Linked DNA regions of Homo sapiens: region 2 is linked to region 1. The links are contacts of gene promoters, found by promoter capture Hi-C in blood cells and fetal thymus (Javierre and others, 2016). All regions are on one chromosome and are shown on one strand. The core of a region is centred on a gene start or on the middle of the fragment in contact, and the rest is flanking DNA. Distances in the headings are between cores, read along the strand shown. Region 1 holds the start of TMEM256 (transmembrane protein 256). Region 2 has its middle 19 kb from the start of ALOX15B.

Evidence for each region. Contacts are between HindIII fragments. The CHiCAGO score rates a contact against its expected background, and 5 or more counts as called.
Region 2: a contact is called between a fragment that was not itself captured here and the fragment with the promoter of TMEM256 in region 1, in 1 of 17 cell types (activated CD4 T cells). The highest score is 5.7, in activated CD4 T cells.

What each region holds. Positions count from the first base shown.
Region 1 is chr17:7,402,830-7,405,352 of GRCh38, forward strand. It overlaps TMEM256 (transmembrane protein 256), which reads right to left and starts at 1,268. Exons shown (of 4, transcript NM_152766.5): 1 at 1,171-1,268; 2 at 829-860; 3 at 481-561; 4 at 146-380. The coding sequence starts at 1,255. The coding sequence ends at 237. TMEM256-PLSCR3 (TMEM256-PLSCR3 readthrough (NMD candidate)) reads right to left here and starts at 1,302. Exons shown (of 10, transcript NR_037719.1): 1 at 1,171-1,302; 2 at 829-860. It also overlaps a transcript of NLGN2 not described here. RefSeq lists an enhancer at 1,077-1,256 and a silencer at 1,747-2,076. The HindIII fragment of the contact is 6,317 bases long and covers 976-2,523 here.
Region 2 is chr17:8,057,182-8,059,704 of GRCh38, forward strand. No RefSeq gene overlaps it. Among named protein-coding and RNA genes, the nearest start is that of ALOX15B, 19 kb to the left of the region's middle. RefSeq lists enhancers at 496-1,013, 497-566. The HindIII fragment of the contact is 2,579 bases long and covers 1-2,523 here.

The DNA of each region.
Region 1 (2,523 bases), core at 18-2,517:
AAGAACATTATAATAAGTTAACTTAAAGTGACCAGAATCCCCAGACCTAAGGCTCACTGATTAAGTCTTAGGAAATGGAGGGAGTTCAGAGGTTGAATCCCCACCCTTCGTCCTCCAAGAGGTTAGATGAACAAAGACTCCAAAGTTTATTTGCCTTTCCTTTTTAATCCTCTTCTTACTCCAACTCTTTAAAAAAAAAACTGCCCAGAAAACCCAGTAATTAAGCAAAAGGGAGCTCAAAGAGCCAAGGCAAGCCAGCCCAAGAGTAGCAGGGTCCCTCCCGCAGGGGCCAAAGTCTGGATGCTGGGGTCTCCACTCAGAGCCTGGTAGTAAAAGCTGGTGCAGAATAAGGTCGTTCCGGAAGCTAGCAATAACCCAGCCTGAAGGAGACACAGCACAGAAAACAGGATTGTTAAGAACAGGGCAGGCTGAGAGGGAGTGTGTGGGGCTTGGTCAGGGTTAGGCGCAGGGAAAGATTACCCAGAGTGGCTTTCTGCAATGGGGCACCCCTAACAGGGCCAGGCTGTGTAAGAAGTGGTGTTTGTTGGCCTTGTCAAACAGCTGTAAGAAAAACAGAAACGAAGGGATGTCGTAGGCAATACAGGTACTGAGATCCCCTGATGACACAAGGGACCAAAGTTCCTTCCCCCACCCCACCCTTGAAGTCCCAGCTTGATCCCAGGCCTTTGGCTTACAGAGCCTTTGGCCTTTGCTGCTCCAGAGATCCGCGGCTCGCCCCACCCTCTCCCCGCCCACTTCCCCCAGGGACCCCAGACTTTGTGCCTTCGTAGACCCACGAGTCAGGGAGCCCCAGCGCAGTTACTTCACCTCCTTCCCGTAGGCATCTGGGAATTGGGCGCCTGTGGAGAAAAGAAGCAAAGGTTAGCGGTCCTAGTGCCAGCCCTGACCGCCCCCAATCCGGGGGGACCCAGGTGGACATTGGCGAGAAAGGGCACCCCCCCCCCCGCCCCAGGAAGCTTCCGATTGGTGGGAACACGCTCGGGCAGTACTGGGAACCAATTGGACCCAGCTGGGGGACTTTAAAAGGTTTAGGGCTCCGCGGACTGTCTGATAAACGAGAGGCCGGGCACCTCCCATAGGTTACGCCCTTGCAGCAGACCCCAGAGGACGCCCCAAGTACAGTCCCATCTTCGTCCCCAGCCCCCTGACCGTGCGCCCCGTAGGAAGCGAAGCCTAAGGCCGCAGCTCCGGACAAGGCGCCCAAGCGGCGGAAAGCTGCAGCTGGCCCGGCCATAGCTGTAGAACAGGACGCACCGGACCAACGCCGCCCAGGCCACCCAAGAGGCCAGCCAATCCCGACCGCCCATGCAAATAAGGTTCACAGGCGCCCAATCCGGGCCGTGTTCATTTCAGCATTGCGCTCTTCACCCGCCTTTGTAAAACCGCTGCAGAGTGGCGAAGACGTCTGGCGGGCGGAGAAACCAGCACCAATTAGGAACAGAGGAGCTAAGCAGTGGGGGGGCGGGGTTGAGGGCGGGACTAGGGGGATTTGCGTCAAGGATTGGCCCACTTTCCAAGTTGATCGCCTCTTCGAACCCCCCACCCCCATGCTCCGGCCAATTTCCAAAGATCCCGGTCTTCTCTCAAAGTTCCGCCCCTTTTTCCACAGGCTCCTCCTGTTCAGCTTCAAATCAAACCCACTACCAAAAAGAGGCGGCCCGAAAGATAGCAAAGCCCCACCTATTGCCAGTAAACCCCGCCCACTGCACAAATGGCCCCTCCCCCATGTCTGAAGGCTCCGCCTTCTTTGTATGATGCCCCGCCCCCTGTAGTTAAGATATTCTCCCCCCCGCCAGCCCTCCGAGACCGCGAGAGCCCCGAGGGTGGGAGATCCGGGGGAATGTCTCCACCCTGCCCTGGCCCGCTACGTCCATCTGTCCGTCTGTCCGCTCCCGCCTCTTCCCACCATCTCCAATCCCCCCATTCTCCGGAGGGCGGGCGGGCAGGCGGGTGCGAGCGGGGGGTGCGAGCGGGGGGTGTGCGCCGCTCTCTCGGCAGGGGGCGGGGGAGGCGGCCGCGCGGTGACGCGCGGGGCTGCTGCGGCTGCTCCGCCGGCGGATCATCACTCTCGGGCTGGGATGGACGCGGGGCGGGCCGGCCCTGGCGCGCGGAGCCAGGAGTCCGGGCCTCCCGGCTGCTGAGCGTCCCTCGAAGCCTCCCCTCACCCCCGCCTTCCCTCCTAGGATCCGCGCTGACCCCCGCCCCGGGGCTCTGGACTCGGCTCCCGCCCTCCTCTGACTCCCCGGACCTCCCCCTCACGCCCGCCCTCGGGATCGACTAGATCCCTCCCCCTCCCCGAGGATTCCGGCTGGATCCCTGCCCCTGCACCGCGGATCCTGCGCTCCCGGGCCCCGGGCCCCTGGGGATTAACGTGGACTCCTCCTCCAGCACCCGATCCTTAGGATCCTCCGCCTGGACCGCCTTCTGGTCCCTCGAAGCCGGCCCACGGAACCAGCGGATCCTCAATCTAGTCCTGTCCCGTTGCCCCCTCCTTTCTCTATC
Region 2 (2,523 bases), core at 10-2,509, 650 kb after region 1:
CCATGGGACAATCCAAAAGTAAACATTCTGCATATTTACATTTTATTAAGCTCCTCTTAAAGAGGGCAGGAATTAAGGCTAGCACAGAAAATTTGATTACTCTGTTTCCAACAGTAGAGCAATATCGTCCTTGGTTTCCTGAACATGGTACCATGGACTTCAAAGATTGGGAACAGGTGGGAATTGCCTTAAAACAAGTTTGTAAGGAAGGAAAATTTATCCCCCTAACAGCCTGGTCAAACTGGGCTATAGTTAAAGCAGCCTCGGAACCGTTTCAATCGGAAAATGAGGCTTATCCTCCAGCAGAAAGAATTTCTGCAGAGGAAGGTGGTGATGCTGCTGAAGGAGGAGAGGATAGTGAAGAAGATTTTGAGGAAAATACAGACAAACCTGGAGATGAGTTAATTTCTTTTGAGGAGCACGTGGGACCTTCAGCTGCTCCTAAAATAGAGAAGCCATATATGCCAAGATGTTTAAAACAAAGAAGGGCCTTGAGGAGCAGTCGGCTCCTCATTGGGATCATCCGGAGTGGCCGCCTCCAATAAAGCAATGTAGCTTGGAGCCTTGGAGGTCTGAATCTCAAATTTGCCCTGTTTCACGAATGAATGAATTGTGGCCTCAGGAACCACGAGCGCATGGTGTAGCACCAGTACAACATAAGGCTGCACTGCCATCTAATGTTAATGAATCGCCATTACAGTTTACTATTCGGCAGGCTAGATTAGCCGGAGATCTTGATGCCTGGCAGTTTGCAGTAGTTTTGCAACCCCCACGACAGCAAGGTGGAGCCCATCAAGCGGTATGGGAACCATTTTCTTTTAAGCTGCTCAAAGATCTTAAAGCAGCTGTTGGTCAGTATGGTCCCAATTCGCCTTTCATCCGATCGCTATTGCAATCTGTGGCTCAGAATAAGCTATTGACTCCGTGTGATTGGGAGATTTTAACGAAAGTTACACTTTCGCCCTCCCAATTTCTTCAGTTTAAGACTTGGTGGACCGACGAGGCTCAAAATCAAGATCGAAAAAACCGTGCTGCTAATCCTGCTATTGCCATTACATTTGAACAACTTCTAGGAATAGGGGGTCAATGGGGAACTGTAAACAACCATCAGGACTTCGAGATGATGCCATTGAACAAATTCGCAATTGCTGTTTGAGGGCATGGGAGAAAATTCAGGATCTGGGAACTACTTATCAGTCTTTTAATTCTATTAGACAAGGCTCAAAGGAACCATATCCTGATTTCATTGCTCGCCTTCAAGACGCAGCACAGAAGGCTCTCACTGATGAAAGTGCCAGGAAGGCCGGGTGCGGTGGCTCATGCCTGTAATCCCAGCACTTTGGGAGGCCGAGGTGGGCGGATCACCTGAGGTCGGGAGTTGGAGACCAGCCTGACCAACATGGAGAAACCCCGTCTCTACTAAAAATATAAAAATTAGCCGGGCGTGATGGCACATGTCTGTAATCCCAGCTACTCAGGAGGCTGAGGCAGGAGAATTGCTTGAACCCAGGAGGCGGAGGTTGCGGTGAGCCGAGATCACGCCACTGCACTCCAGCCTGGGTAACAAGAGCGAAACTCCGCCTCAAAAAAAAAAAAAAAAAAAGAAAGAAAGAAAGAAAGTGCCAGGAAGGTGATTGTAGAATTATTGGCTTGTGAGAATACTAACCCTGAATGCCAGTCAGCTATTCACCCAGTGAAAGGAAAGGTTCCGGTGGGAGTTGATGTGATTAATGAATATATCAGGGCATGTAATGGAGTTGGTGGAATCATGCATAAGGCTATGATAATGGTTCAAGCCACGACAGAGTTAAAAGTGGGAGGTCCAATTAAAAACTTTTCAGGCAATTGTTACAATTGTGGGCAATTTGGACACACAAAAAAGGAACGTAAGAACAAATCGAACAAACAGGCAAGATATAATCAAATAAAAGAACCACCTGGCTTATGTCCCAGGTGCCAGAAGGGTAAACATTGGGCTAATCAGTGTCACTTCAAATTTGACAAAAATGGCCAACCGTTACAACCGCAGTCGGGAAACAGGAAGAGGGGCCAGCCTCAGGCCCCGCTCCAAACGGGGGCATTCTCACTCCAGCAGTTGGTCCCTCAGTCGGTCATTGCCTCTAGTCCAACCACCATCATTGTCTCTTGCCCAACCACCACAGTAACACAATTGGCGCCAGCTACAGCAGGGAGTACAGGCTTAGATTTATGTTTCCCAAAAGCTATCTCTCTGCTTCCAGGGAAATCCCCTCAAAAAGTCCCCACTGGAGTATTTGGCCCTTTACCTGATGGACAGTTGGACTTGTTTTAGGAACATCTAGTCTAAACTTAAAAGGAGTTCAGATTCATACTGGGCTGATTGATTCAGATTTTGTGGGAGAAATTCAATTGGTTATTAGTTCCAGTATTCCTTGGAGTGCAAACCCAGGAGATAGAATTGCTCAGCTGTTGTTATTACCTTATGTAATAGTAGAAAAAAGTACAGTAAAAAGAGAAAGTGGTTTTGGCAGTACTGACAGTGAA